4 separate regions of the Homo sapiens genome follow, and regions 2, 3 and 4 are each linked to region 1. Evidence: promoter capture Hi-C in human tissues and cell types (Jung and others, 2019). All regions are on one chromosome and are shown on one strand. The core of a region is centred on a gene start or on the middle of the fragment in contact, and the rest is flanking DNA. Distances in the headings are between cores, read along the strand shown.

What was found. The method cuts DNA at HindIII sites, captures the fragments that hold promoters and counts their contacts. A contact is called where the count stands out against the background at its distance.
Region 2: a fragment that was not itself captured here is called in contact with the fragment with the promoter of PKP2 in region 1 in 1 of the 25 tissues and cell types used here (dorsolateral prefrontal cortex).
Region 3: the fragment with the promoter of ALG10 here is called in contact with the fragment with the promoter of PKP2 in region 1 in 2 of the 25 tissues and cell types used here (mesenchymal stem cells and mesendoderm cells).
Region 4: a fragment that was not itself captured here is called in contact with the fragment with the promoter of PKP2 in region 1 in 1 of the 25 tissues and cell types used here (dorsolateral prefrontal cortex).

Annotation. Positions count from the first base shown.
Region 1 is chr12:32,894,914-32,898,361 of GRCh38, reverse strand. It overlaps PKP2 (plakophilin 2), which reads left to right and starts at 1,585. Exons shown (of 13, transcript NM_001005242.3): 1 at 1,585-1,853. The coding sequence starts at 1,631. RefSeq lists silencers at 1,177-1,276, 1,477-1,586. The HindIII fragment of the contact is 8,511 bases long and covers 1-3,448 here.
Region 2 is chr12:34,037,213-34,040,660 of GRCh38, reverse strand. No RefSeq gene overlaps it. Among named protein-coding and RNA genes, the nearest start is that of ALG10, 16 kb to the right of the region's middle. The HindIII fragment of the contact is 3,582 bases long and covers 1-3,448 here.
Region 3 is chr12:34,020,709-34,024,156 of GRCh38, reverse strand. ALG10 (ALG10 alpha-1,2-glucosyltransferase) reads right to left here and starts at 1,661. Exons shown (of 3, transcript NM_032834.4): 1 at 1,387-1,661; 2 at 1-195. The coding sequence starts at 1,557. RefSeq lists silencers at 1,655-1,841, 1,755-1,904. The HindIII fragment of the contact is 12,723 bases long and covers 1-3,448 here.
Region 4 is chr12:33,914,126-33,917,573 of GRCh38, reverse strand. No RefSeq gene overlaps it. Among named protein-coding and RNA genes, the nearest start is that of ALG10, 110 kb to the left of the region's middle. The HindIII fragment of the contact is 4,943 bases long and covers 1-3,448 here.

The sequences.
Region 1 (3,448 bases), core at 336-2,835:
CAATTACATCTCAGCATCATGGTTGGATGTTTCCACCTGGCTACATAAGCAAGCTTTACACAAGGTGTAATTTGCCTAAATAGTGGTCCATTCTATTGGGGTGGGAGCAATTGCTTCCAGGACTCACATCCATATGGCTCCCACTTAGCCATGTGGCCTGCTGACAAAGGGTGGCGGAACTGTCACTACTCTGTTGTCCACGCTTTCAGTCCTTTGGTTTCCTCTTCACTCCCTGGACGCTCATGTAAAAAGGGAGGCCATATACCTGTGCATTGTGTGTCTAAGCATTCAGTGTGTGTCTAAAGGCAGAAGGGTGTGGGTAGGAAAACAAAGACGAGGGAAGCTGCGTTCTCCAAACACTTCAGACTTGAGTAAGTGGGGTTTTGCAGCAATTGAGTGATTTGAGGGAAAGTGAACATACAAACCCAAGCAATCAAAGGGAATATTATCTTAATACCAGGGATACATGTTTTTCTTTCTGCCTCTTAAGTCCAAAGAGGCAAATCAGGACAAGTGGCTTTGGTTGTAAACTTTAAGGTCAAGGATCCTTTCTGTTGAGCTTAGCTCTCAAGTTCTCAGTAGTCAACTGCGGTGAAACATAATTAATAGCACGATAAATACAAGTTGTGGAAGATTCGATTGAAAGTTGGAGGCCCTCTCCGTGGATCTCTCTACAAAGAGCCTGTAATAAAGAGGACTTAATCAACGTTAGCAGGGCTATTTAAAAAGCATCGTCTATTAAAATTCATTTCTTCTCTAGAGCCTCTTGTTGGAGTTTCTCTGTGTGGGTGTGTTCGTAAGAGAGGAATGGGTTAGCAAGAGTACTGGGTACAATTTGTGTATCCAAGAGAAAACAGAAGCTCTCAATGAGGAAGAACATATGTTTCTGGGACTGCATCTGTGCAAAAAGTACATAGTCCTGACGTTGTACTAAGAAAAAAAACACTCTCTTTAGAAAGTCTTTTATTTCACACGTTATCTTCTTGGCACATTTCCCTCATATTGCCCTTTCCGCCTGACCAAATAGCCCTTTCTCACCCTCAGGTCCAGGAAAACCAGGAAACGTTTCCAACAGTGCGACAAAGCCTGACTAACCAGACATACTACTCGCTCGGGGATCCCGGAGGCAAGCCTCAGTCCAAGAACAGGAGTGACTCTCGAGGGCTCACCTGCCTGCAGGGCAGCCCCTCCCTGCATCGAGCGGAAATCCATCCTGTCCAGCGCGGGGCGTGGGCAGAGCGGGGCGCGGCCCCGGCAGGCGGTATCCGCTGGGACTCCGACAACGTGCGCGACCCCAGGCGAACCGCGCCCCTCTCCCCACCTCCCCGCGGGCGGGTACAAGTCTCCAGGTGTCCGCGCGCTCAGCGGGTCCGGCCCGCCCCCGCCCCCGCCCCCGGGCCCGACTGCGCGTGCCCGGCCGGAGCCGCGCCCCCTCCTCAGGGAAGGCCGGGCGTCCGGCCCACGAGGCCGAGCTCCCCCCCGGCCCGGGCCTCTCACCGGCGCGGGGGGCGGGCCAGGGGCGGGGCCGGACTCGAGCGGGGCGGGGCTCGCGCCAGCGCCCCCAGCTCCGTGGCGGCTTCGCCCGCGAGTCCAGAGGCAGGCGAGCAGCTCGGTCGCCCCCACCGGCCCCATGGCAGCCCCCGGCGCCCCAGCTGAGTACGGCTACATCCGGACCGTCCTGGGCCAGCAGATCCTGGGACAACTGGACAGCTCCAGCCTGGCGCTGCCCTCCGAGGCCAAGCTGAAGCTGGCGGGGAGCAGCGGCCGCGGCGGCCAGACAGTCAAGAGCCTGCGGATCCAGGAGCAGGTGCAGCAGACCCTCGCCCGGAAGGGCCGCAGCTCCGTGGGCAACGGTGAGTGGAGCCCGCCGCTCCCCGGCGCCGCCCCCTGCCCCACACCCGGTCACCTCCTCCTATCCCGCCCTCACCCCGCGTGCTGGGAGTGCGGGACCCCGTGTTCTGCCCACCTGTTGCTCGCCGTCTTCGGTATGACCGACTTGCTTGTGGAAAGCACTCTTTTCCATAACCTATTACTCAGCTTTGTCATATAGGTACCTATGTATATTAAATATTGTACATATCTATCAATGTTAACTAACTCACTTCAAGATTTCACCCCTTTCTTTTTCTACTCCGCCGGTCCGCGCCCCTCACTGGTGCGGACTTAATTTGAAGGTTCAGGGAGTCTATAAACACCTTGAGATGCTATGCAGAATTTTTGGTGTGTACGATCTTTTTCTGGGAGAAGGAGCCCTTCAATTTTATTAGATTTGTTAAATAATTAATGACCCCCATAAATATCTTGGGGAAAAAAACCGACAGCACTGGCGCTCCTACAACCTATAAATTGGGATTGTGCTGTCTTATGCAAGTACTTCGGGGCGCTCCACCCTGTGTGGGAGGCGAGTGGTGGATCTAGGGAGTGAAGAAAAGTAGTTAGGAGGCTTTGGTCCAGGGAACAAACACGCCGAGGAGGAGGTAGGGGACTTTGGCCCTGCCGGCAACAGCCGTGCCCGCCTAGCTGCGCTTCCTACCCCCACCAGTGCGGGCGTGATGCAAGTCTGATCCCTCCAAAAAATTAAACCCGAAGGTGAAAGGGGTGTAAGCACACACATGCACACTATGTTCATGATTGATAGACGGGGGAGGTGGAAGGGAAAGAAGATGGCAAGCCACTTGTGAAAATTAGAGATCATGATGTATCCTTTTCTCCCCTGCTGAAGTCAGGTGATGGGATCAACTCAGTGACCCTTGTTTTACTTCTTGTTGCTGTGTATGTGAGTTTGCATTATAAAAGCACTATGTTGGCTTATAGCAAAAAGAAGAGGAAAGAAATTGAGCAATTAAGTTGGAATATCTGTTTCCTGCAACGTTCAGTTGTTTCTGTATGAAGTAACTTGGGCATTGGCGAATGTAGGCTAACCCATTCTAGTTTCTATTAGGAAAACAGAAAAATTCTAACAGGCCAGACCAGAGATTTCAAACAGCAGAGTCTGGGAGGCTGTACTGTGTGTGTAAAAGAATCCTAAAGGATGACGTAGTCAATATTAACATACTTGAAAGGTAAAGAGAAGATGTTCAATGATCGTAGTTAATATAACTGAGTGCATACTATGTGCCAAGAATTGGGCGATGTGGTTTGCATTCATTTGAGATATATATATATATATGTATTTAAAAACTTGTGAGTTAGGTATTTTCATCCTCATTTTACAGATGAGGAAACTAAGCAGTTAAGTAACACTGAAGCTCTAATAGATGGTAAGTGGCAGAGCTGGTATTTAAACTCCCAAACCTGAATTTTAAACTTATCAGTTTTATCATTAAGTTTTAAAATGATTAATACAAAGTGGGATTTGTTAGATGCTAAGCCTCTCCGTGGCCCCCTCCCATTTTTCTTTAAATAAAATTGAGGAAGTTCTGAAAGGCTGGGGAGGTCTAGAAAACAC
Region 2 (3,448 bases), core at 540-3,039, 1.1 Mb before region 1:
TGCAATTAACAGCCATTTAATACTTTTTGTATGTATTTTCCTTTCTCATTTGATCTAATAGGTTCACCTTCCTAAGTTCACCTTCCTAGGTTCACACAGCATGCTAATGGCAGAACCAGGACTTGAATCCAGGTATTCTGACTCTAGCTCAAGTGTTCTGTATTTATAGCTGAATAACTATTTTAGACAAGGACAGTCTATCAAAATTTAGTGTGTAGCAGAAAGTTGGCTGGTTATTTTGTTCAATGTATTTCTCCTTTACTTATTAGAGAAAAGTTATTTCAATAATTACAAAATAGTTATCAATTCGAATATTTTAAAGGTTTTGATCTTGGTTAATTTACCCTTATCAAATATTAAGCCCAAATTACAAAGCCCTTAAAAAATATGAAGCCAAATTCAATTAAAATTTTTTTCTTAGATGCCTGCTAATTATTTCTCATAATAAGCTAGTTTTCTTCCAAAAACTACACCATTATTTCAATTCGATGAAAATTTGTTCTTGATGAAGGAAAACTGGATTTGGAAGATAGAAAAATTAAGTTAATCCTCTGACATTGTAATGATAAACATTTAACTCAGAATTTACTGAAAAAAAATTAGAGTATATCTAGAGATTCAGATTACATGCAAACAAATTTACAGTCTTCCAAATTGCATTATTTGTCTTTTGAAACGGAGAAAATCTCATTGGATGATCAATAGTTCACAGAATTTTTCATATGTTAATAAAGAGAAAAAATTAACACAAGGAAAGGTCCAGTATAATACCAAACATTACAAAACAGAAAAGATCCAGTCTATCAACATTCTAGCTACACAGAATTCAAACATCAAGCTAGGTGTCAGGTTGCATTATATGTAACTCAAAACCATTTGGAGATTTGGAGAAACTTCCAAATTGCATTCCTTTCAGAAAGCTAAAATCCATGACTATTTTAAAAAATTTACCTTCCATGTCACTCACATTACATAACAAATAGAATCACTGCTTTCATTCCTTATCAAGTAACCTGCTCTATAGCACAGCTATCAGAGAATGGCAGGCTGCTTTTCTAATGGCCTGATTAAGGGAAACAAGAATTTCCCATAGAGAAGCTTTTGGAAGCCTTTTATTACTATATATACATTACTATATTTTTATTACTCTCTATATATTACTATATATATATAAAACAAATTCCACATTTATTAAAACTATTTATAAATTCCAGGTTTGACTGGTATTCCAATTGGAAAGAAAGAGAAAATATCAAGGTTTCTACATATTCTTTTTTTTTTTGAGACGGAGTCTCGCTCTGTCACCCAGGCTGAAGTGCAGTGGTGCGATCTCCGCTCACTGCAAGCTCCGCCTCCCGGGGTCCCGCCATTCTCCTGCCTCAGTCTCCCGAGTAGTTGGGACTACAGGCGCCCGCCACCACCCCCGGCTGATTTTTTTGTATTTTTAGTAGAGAGGAGGTTTCACAGTGTTAGCCAGGATGGTCTCAATCTCCTGACCTCGTGATCGCCCGCCTCGGCCTCCCAAAGTGCTGGGATTACAGGTGTGAGCCACCGCGCCCGGCCCTAAATACTTTTTTTTTTTTTGAGATGGAGTCGCTCTGTTGCCCAGGCTGGAGTGCAATGGCACGATCTCAGCTCACCGCAACCTCCGCCTCCCGGGTTCAAGCGATTCTCCTGTCTCAGCCTCCAGAGTAGTTGGGATTACAGGCATGCACCACCACGCCCGGCTAATTTTATATTTTTAGTAGAGACAGGGTTTCTCCATGTTGATCAGGCTGATCTCGAACTCCTGATCTCAGGTGATCCACCCGCCTCGGCCTCCCAAAGTGCTGGGATTACAGGCGTGAGCCACTGTGCCAGGCCTTACGTATTCTTAATTATGGGGAATAGAATGCAGCTATGATTATCTGCTTCAAGCTTCTAACCACATGTTTTCAAAATGCTCAATGACAAAAATAAGCAAATATATTTGCTTAAAGCTAAAAATGTTCAAAGAATGCATTTAAAAAAATGAAAAAATCACTAGCATCTGTGACATTATGAAGGTAAGTAAAATGGTACCAAGTTCCTGTCAGACTAATAACTGGAAAAGCTGTCCAAGAGTGCCACCTTGAGGGAAAATTTAAGACAATGCATTTTGAAAACAAAATTGGCATAAAGGGTTTCAGCGTTGCCCATCACAGTTACCCCAACTAAAGAACATCACTGTAAATTATTATAGTACAAGTGAAGAGATAAGCACGGTCTTTCAACTCAGATCCTATTATATTCTTCTGTCTTTTCATATCAGTATTCCACGTGTATTTCATTTGAACGTGCCTCCTGGATGAGATATTATTTTAATGGAGAAAGGTATTCTTAGAGTCACTGGTATGTGAAGAAAGGATTCCTCTCTTTTTTTCTACTCTTTCTGGTGGTTCCTTTCTCTGTCTTCAGTCTTCCTACTTACTCTCTTCCTTCTTTTCCTAGCAATACCCCTAAAGTTCTCATGCTCATGATCCCCAGAAATACTTGTGCTTACGTGCGGGCAGGCAGTGTGTGGGTATGTGTCGGGGATATGGTTGGAGAGCTGGAGGGAATAGAATATGACATTCTCATATGCTCTTAAAATATTAATAACCAATTAGCTTTAATGTGTTACTTTTCCTTGCATTTCCTGCATTTTATGATACATTTCCCTGCATTTCAAAGAACAAAATTTATGACCAAGACATAGATTTCTAGATGTGGCTAAGTAAAAACTACTGACTTAGATCAAGATCATCCCCTCCCATGGTTCTCCAAAGCCCAGGGCCTGTTTATACCTCTGAAACCTTACAGTGTATTTGGCCCAAAGACCCAATGTATACATTACACACACACGGACACACACACACACACACACACACACACACACAGTGAAGATTCTAGGTCAAGCTAGGTTTCTTCATCTAAATTTGATTTCTTCACTAGACCTTTAGAGAGTGATAGCGTTGCAAGGAAAATATAAAAATTACATAGAACAGTACTTACTGAGAAAGACTGATAGGGTACCTGCTACAGCTCATGAAACGTTTCTCCTAAGACTGCATCTCTCCTCCTGGCTTCAAACCCTTTCAGGCCAAATATTTTAGGGAGGTCTCCGAAACTCCTCATGTTTCCGATGGAGAGCAACCTTCTCTCTGGCTTCTGCATCACTTACAACAGGATCTACAGGAGAGTGGAGGGCCTGTCTCACAGAGCCATTCTTCTAGTTTTAACTGAAACCTGGCTATCATCTCTAAATAACTATTTTTCTCTCCACACCCATTTATCTGTGGGTCTGTGTGTGGGACGTGCTTTCCTTGCTCCTCACTGTATACAGCAGAGCACTGTTCTTTCTTCCTAAAAATAACCTCAGTTCTTTGGATGCACAGGCCATCAGATGATGCAAGTTTAGCAGGAATCAGTATAGCGCCCTGGTTAAGAG
Region 3 (3,448 bases), core at 412-2,911, 1.1 Mb before region 1:
GTTTCTGGGTTGTACCTTGCAGAAAAGCAAATATAGTAAATAGAAGTTGCCAACACTGAAGAGAAGATTAACAAATCTGAGCATCCCAATGGAGCAGACAACATGTTCAGACCATCCAAAGATCCAAATGGCAGGTTTGATCACTCCAATTGACACCAGGTACAAGCCAGGTAATGTAGTAATCATGGGATCCCACTTTAAAATGAAAGAAAATGAAGTAAAAGCAAGAGGTAATAGGAACAAGACAGGCACAAATATGTCAAGCCCAAGTCTCATCTCCAGCAACAATCAGAAATTTTGAGAAGTTATTCTATGACAAGATTAAGTAAGTCCTTGGCAGAACAGGATTCGTTTTTCTTATTTTTTGCCCCCGGACCAGCTTAGTGATGGTTCAGGTAGCAGCAACCAATAAACAACAACAACTTAAAATCTATTTCTATTTTCCAAGAAATGTTCTTTAAAAGCCTTTATTTTGATAAATAAACTGCAAATGTTCCAGTTTTTAAAAGCATGGAAACATTGTTTGGGACTCTTAAGTTTAGGAAAACATTTGGACCACAGGCTCCATGATGACAGCTAACATAAACTGAGACAGAAATTGTTGCCAAACCCTCTGTATTAACGTTACAATATGCCCTATAGTAAAGATTATTGTCATTTTGCAGATGAGTAACCTGAATTTCTGAAACTCAGAACATCTCCAAGATCACAAAACTAGTAAATCACAGCACCAAGATTTAAGATCAGATCTTTCTCTAAAACAGACTTTATATTTCTAGCCAGTACCCTATATTGTGTCACCAGAGAAGCAGGGGATGCTTATTTTGATATTTATATGTACATACTTGCACAGTCAAATATATACTCAAAAATGATGTGACTTGACTGGTTGCCAGTTTATCCAGTTAACAGTTCACTAAAAATACCCAGGGAAGGAATTTGTGATTATAAATTGTCACTTTTTGGTAGCTGAAGATCCCTCCAGTCCACCCTATCCCACCCCTAAAATGCACAGTGAGGTGCTTGACAGGTGAGCTAAAGGAAAGTTTTCTGGTATTTCCAAGGAGCACCCGAATGCCTTTAATCCTAAAACAAGGAAAGACAAAGTGGGATCGATATCGTCAGCTGCCAAGAGGAGGGCTCAGTTCCCCGTTGAGTATTCTCCCAGATCACTCCTTCCTGGAGGACAGATCTGCTGTTTATTCATTCATTTAATAAATATTTCACAGATCTCAGAGACAGGAACAAAAGACTATACCCAGTTTCTTTCATGTTCTGAGGCTTGAGGGGGTGGAACAGGACGAGTGAAGTCTAAGGATGGGAGGACGTGGGGACGCTGGGACCTCTCAGGCCTCTCCTGGGGTGGGGACAGGTTGGGGACCCCACCTGGGAAAGGGAGAAATGGCCCTCACAGTAGCGCTGCGCCTGAGGCAGGTGGAAGATCTCGTCCATGTAGGGCTCTCGCAACGCCCGGCTGAAGGCGGAGAAGAGGAGGCAGGATACTAAAAAGGTACAGCTCAAGGCGGCCGAGAAATAGTAACCTTCCAGCTGCGCCATTCCAGCTCCCACAGCCACTGCCCAAGAACCTACTCCTGGAAAATTCTGAGCCTGGAAACCCGAGCTGGAAACTTGGGCTCGAAATGGGCGCGCTAGGCGGGACTAGCCAGACGGGGCCACATACCGGAAGGCAAAGGATGCTGGGAGAGCGCGGATCCGGAAAGATCGGGTCGCTGTTTCCCGGAGTGACGGGTTTAGATAACGGACCGGATGATTACCCTCTCAATCGCATTGCCCGGGGCGCACAAAGTGTCAAAACTTCCGGAAGGGGCGGGTCTCGGATTTCGCCAGCGCGGGAGGTGCGTGGCTTGCTGCTTAGAAAAAAAAAAAAAAAAAAAAAAAAAAAAAAGCCGCTTCTTAGCTTGGATCTTTTTTCCTGCTCACTTCCATCACTTACCAGAAGGTGGCGACGTTTCCCCACGTTTCCAATTCCAAGCCCTAAAATGGACACATTTTTTCCCCCGTTATTTCTGTTATTTCTCTCCAGTGATCCGAATTAATTAAACCCTCAATTCCAAGACATTTCATTCCATCAACTTTGGAGTGTAGGAAGGGTGCGTTGGTTGTGATAGCAAAGACTGAGAGTTTTAGATGAAAACTTGAAGAACCAGAGACCCGTCAATGCCGAATGAACTTCAGTGAGAGGAGTGTTTGTTCGTTTGTTTGTTTAGGTTAAAAGAGAACTCTTTCAAAATGTGGATGCTCTCAGAGGATTTAGTTAAATTGACATTCCTAGTGCACTTTCATAGTCATATTACCCTGTAGGATTTGGAAAATACATATATATTTTAGAATTCGGGATGTTTTAGGTGTGCCTGTAAATTTGGTTGTTAATATCTGTAAGGCAGCCTTCTGTTTTTCCTACTAAATCATAAGCGTGAACATCTTAGTGGGTGGCATTATACATCCTTTATGTTTGTAGTCCCCAAAATGGCTTTCACACAGTAGGCACTTAAATTTGTGGACTTTTATAGGCTGTGTAGACATCATCAAATTCCTGTATTCTGGGATTAGGTGCTGGGGGCAGGAGATGAGGTAAATAATTTGAAGAATGCCGAAGATAAATTATGTGTTGTAATTTTGTCTTGAGCATGGTTGGCCATGTTTTGTAGAAAAACTATTTCTCAGGTAACCTCAATCAGGTTGCCTTTGGCAGGAATATATCAGAATTTAGGCGGGATTTAAGGTTGCAAACCTCAGAGTTCTCAATTGAGCTCTTTTTCTGGGTTAAAACTAATTCAGTATTTCTAAACTTAAGAAAGTTTCTTAAATTAAGCTGACTGCCTTTCCATTCTGTCTCTGCCTGTTTCCTCAATGATAAGAGGAAGTAGTGGTGAATGAGGGCTGGGATGGGAACATTTACATTACTGGAATAAAGTCATGTGAGGATCCTACTCTGATGTGATGCTTAGCTTTGTTTTAACCATTATCTCCCATTTTATTGTTGAGTCCATGCTGTACTTATCTGTTTAAGTCACTTGTAACACATCTCCAGATGATTCAGTCTTCAAGAGGTTGATGTGATCTACAAGTAATTAGCTCCTGACCTGTTGACCTGCTAAATCGTGTTATATATACTCTGCAGCTTACTGACCCACCCTAGAAATAGTGGGTCGTTTTTAAAGGGAGTAGAACAAGACTAGACATTTATGCTCTCCATTTTTCTTCATAACAATTGCCACCAATAGTTTATGTTAAACATTTGACTCCTATACATGCTGCACACATCCCTTTACATAAAATGGAAAGTTTCAAGGAAATATGGGGTTCTAGAATGGGTAGGGATCTTTATTAATAATCTACTTGACTTCATGTTATAAAAGAAGTTGGTTTTAAAAAAATGAATGATTTACCTAAAATTACATAAAAAATTAGTGTCAGAACCAAGTGT
Region 4 (3,448 bases), core at 573-3,072, 1.0 Mb before region 1:
AATTAATAGCCTACCAAGCAAAAAACACCCAGGACCAACAGATTCACAGCCAAATTCTACCAGAGGTACAAAGAGGAGCTGGTACCATGCCTTCTGAAACTATTCCAATCAATAGAAAAAGAGGAAATCTTCCCTAACTCATTTTATGGGGCCAGCATCATCCTAATACTAAAGCCTGACAGAGACACAACAAAAAAAGAGAATGTTAGGCCAATATCCCTGATGAACATTGATGCAAAATCATCAATAAAATACTGGCAAACTGAATCCAGCAGCACATCAAAAAGCTTATCCACCACTATTAAGTCAGCTTCATGCCTGGGATGCAAGCGTGGTTCAACATATGCAAATCAATAAATGTAACCCATCACATAAACAGAACCAATGACAAAAGCCACATGATTATCTCAGTAGATGCAGAAAAGACCTTTGATAAAATTCAACAGTGCTTCATGCTAAATACTCTCAATAAACTAGGTATTGATGGAACGTATCTCAAAATAATAAGAGCTATTTATGACAAATCCACAGCCCATATCATGCCGAATGGGCAAAAACTGGAAGCATTCCTTTCGAAAACTGGCAGAAGACAAGGATGCCATCTCTCACCACTCCTATTCAACGCAGTACTGGAAGTTCTGGCCAGAGCAATCAGGCAAGAGAAAGAAATAAAGGGTATTCAACTGGGAAAAGAGGAAGTCAAATTGTCTCTGTTTGCAGATGACATGATTGCATATTTAGAAAATCCCATAGTCCCAGCCAAAAATCTCCTTAAGCTGATAAGCAACTTCAGTAAACTCTCAAGATACAAAATCAACGTGCAAAAATCACAAGCATTCCTATACACTAATAACAGGCAAACAGAGAGCCAAATCATGAGTGAACTCCCATTCACAATTACTACATAAAGAATAAAATCCTAGGAATCCAACTTACAAAGGATGTGAAAGGCCTCTTCAAGGAGAACTACAAACCACTGCTCAATGAAATAAAAGAGGACGCAAACAAATGGAAGAACATTCCATGCTCATGGAAAGGAAGAATCAATATCGTGAAAATGGCCATACTGCCCACGGTAATTTATAGATTCAAGGCTATCCCCATCAAGCTACCAAAGACTTTCTTCACAGAATTGGAAAAAAACTACTTTAAATTTCATATGGAACCAAAAAGAGCCCGCATAGCAAAGACAATCCTAAGCAAAAAGAACAAAGCTGGAGACATCAGGCTACCTGACTTCAAACTATAATAGTACAAGTCTACAGTAACCAAAACAGCACAGTACTGGTACAAAAACAGGTATATAGACCAATGGAACAGAACAGAGGGCTCAGAAATAACATCACATATCTACAACCATCTGATCTTTGACAAACCTGACAAAAACAAGCAATGGGGAAAGGATTCTCTATTTAATAAATGGTCTTCGGTAAATTGGCTTGCCATATGTAGAAAGCTGAAACTGGGTCCCTTCCTTACACCTTATATAAAAATTAACTCAAGATGGATTAAAGTCTTAAATGTAAGACCTAAAACCATAAAAACCCTAGAAGAAAACCTAGGCAATACCATTTAGGACATAGGCATGGGCAAAGACTTCATGACTAAAACACCAAAAGCAATGGCAAGAAAAACCAAAATAGACAAATGGGATCTAATTAAACTAAAGAGCTTCTGCATAGCAAAAGAAACTACCATCAGAGTGAAAGGGGAACCTACAGAATGGGAGAAAATATTTGCAATCTATCCATCTGACAATGGGCTAATATCCAGAATCTACAAAGAACTTAAGCAAATTTACAAGAAAAAAAAAACCATCAAAAAGTGAACAAAGGGTATGAACAGACACGTCTCAAAAGAAGACATGTATGCAGCCAAGAGACATATGAAAAAACGCTCATCATCACTTGTCCTCAGAGAAATGCAAATCAAAACCGCAATGAGATACTATCTCGTGCCAGTTAGAATAGTGATCATTAAAAAGTCAGGAAACAACAGATGCTGCAGAGGATGTGGAGAAATGGGAACGCTTTTACACTGTTGTTGGGAGTCTAAATTAGTTTAACCACTGTGGAAGACAGTGTGGCAATTCTTCAAGTATCTAGAACTAGAAATACCATTTGACCCAGCAGTCCCATTACTGGGTATATACCCAAAGGATTATAAATCATGCTACTATAAAGACACATGCACACGTATGTTTACTGCGGCACTATTCACAATATCAAAGACTTAGAACTAACGCAAATGTCCATCAATAATAGGCTGGATGAAAAAAAAAAAGTGACACATATACATTCTCAGCAAAATATCACAAGGACAGAAAACCAAACACCACATGTTCTCACTCATAAGTGGGAGGTGAACAATGAGAACACACGGACACAGGGAGGGGAACATCACATACTGGGGCCTGTCAAGGGGTGGGGGGGCTAGCGTTAGGAGAAATACCTAATGTAAATGACTGGGGGAGGGATAGTGTTAGGAGAAAAACCTAATGTAAATGATGAGTTGACAGGCGCAGCAAACCAACATGGCACATGTATACCTATTTAACAAACCTGCAAGTTGTGCACATGTACCTTAGAACGTAAAGTATAATATAAAATAAGAAAATATTAATAAGGTAATTAAAGCCCTAGCTAGACTAATAAAGAATAAAAGAGAAAAGATCCAAATAAACATAATTAGAAACAACAAAAGGAATGGTACCACTGACTCCACAGAAATACCACTAACTATCAGAGACTACTATAAACACCTCTATGCACACAAATGAGAAAATCTAGAAGAAAAGGATACACACCTGGAAACACTCACTCTCAAAACTGATCCAGGAAGAAAAATGAATCCTAAACAGACCAATACAAGTTCTAAAATTGAATCAGTAATAAATAGTCTACCAACCAAAAGAAGCCTAGAACCAGATGGACTTACAGCTGAATTCTACCAGATGAACAAAGAAGAGCTGGTAACATTCCTACTGAAACTATTCCAAAAATTTGAGAAGGAGGGAATCCCCCCAACTCATTCTATGAGTCTAACATCATCCTGATACCAAAACCTGTCAGAGACACAGCAACAACAACAAAAAACTTCAGGGCAATACCCTTGATGAACATTGATGCAAAAATCCTAAAAAATGTACTAGAAAATCAAATCCAGCAGCACATTAAAAAGCTAATCCACCACAATCAAGTAGGTTTTATCCCTGCAATGTAAGGTTGCTTCAACATACACAAATCAATAAATGTGATTCATCACATAAAGAGAACTAAAGACAAAAACCACATGATTATATCAATAGATGCAGGAAAGTCTTTTGATAAAATTCAAAATGTTAAAAACTCTCAACAAACTAGGTATTAAAGGAATGTACCTCATGATTAAAAGGGTCATCTATGAAAAACCCATGGCCAACATTATACTGAATGGGCAAAAGCTAGAA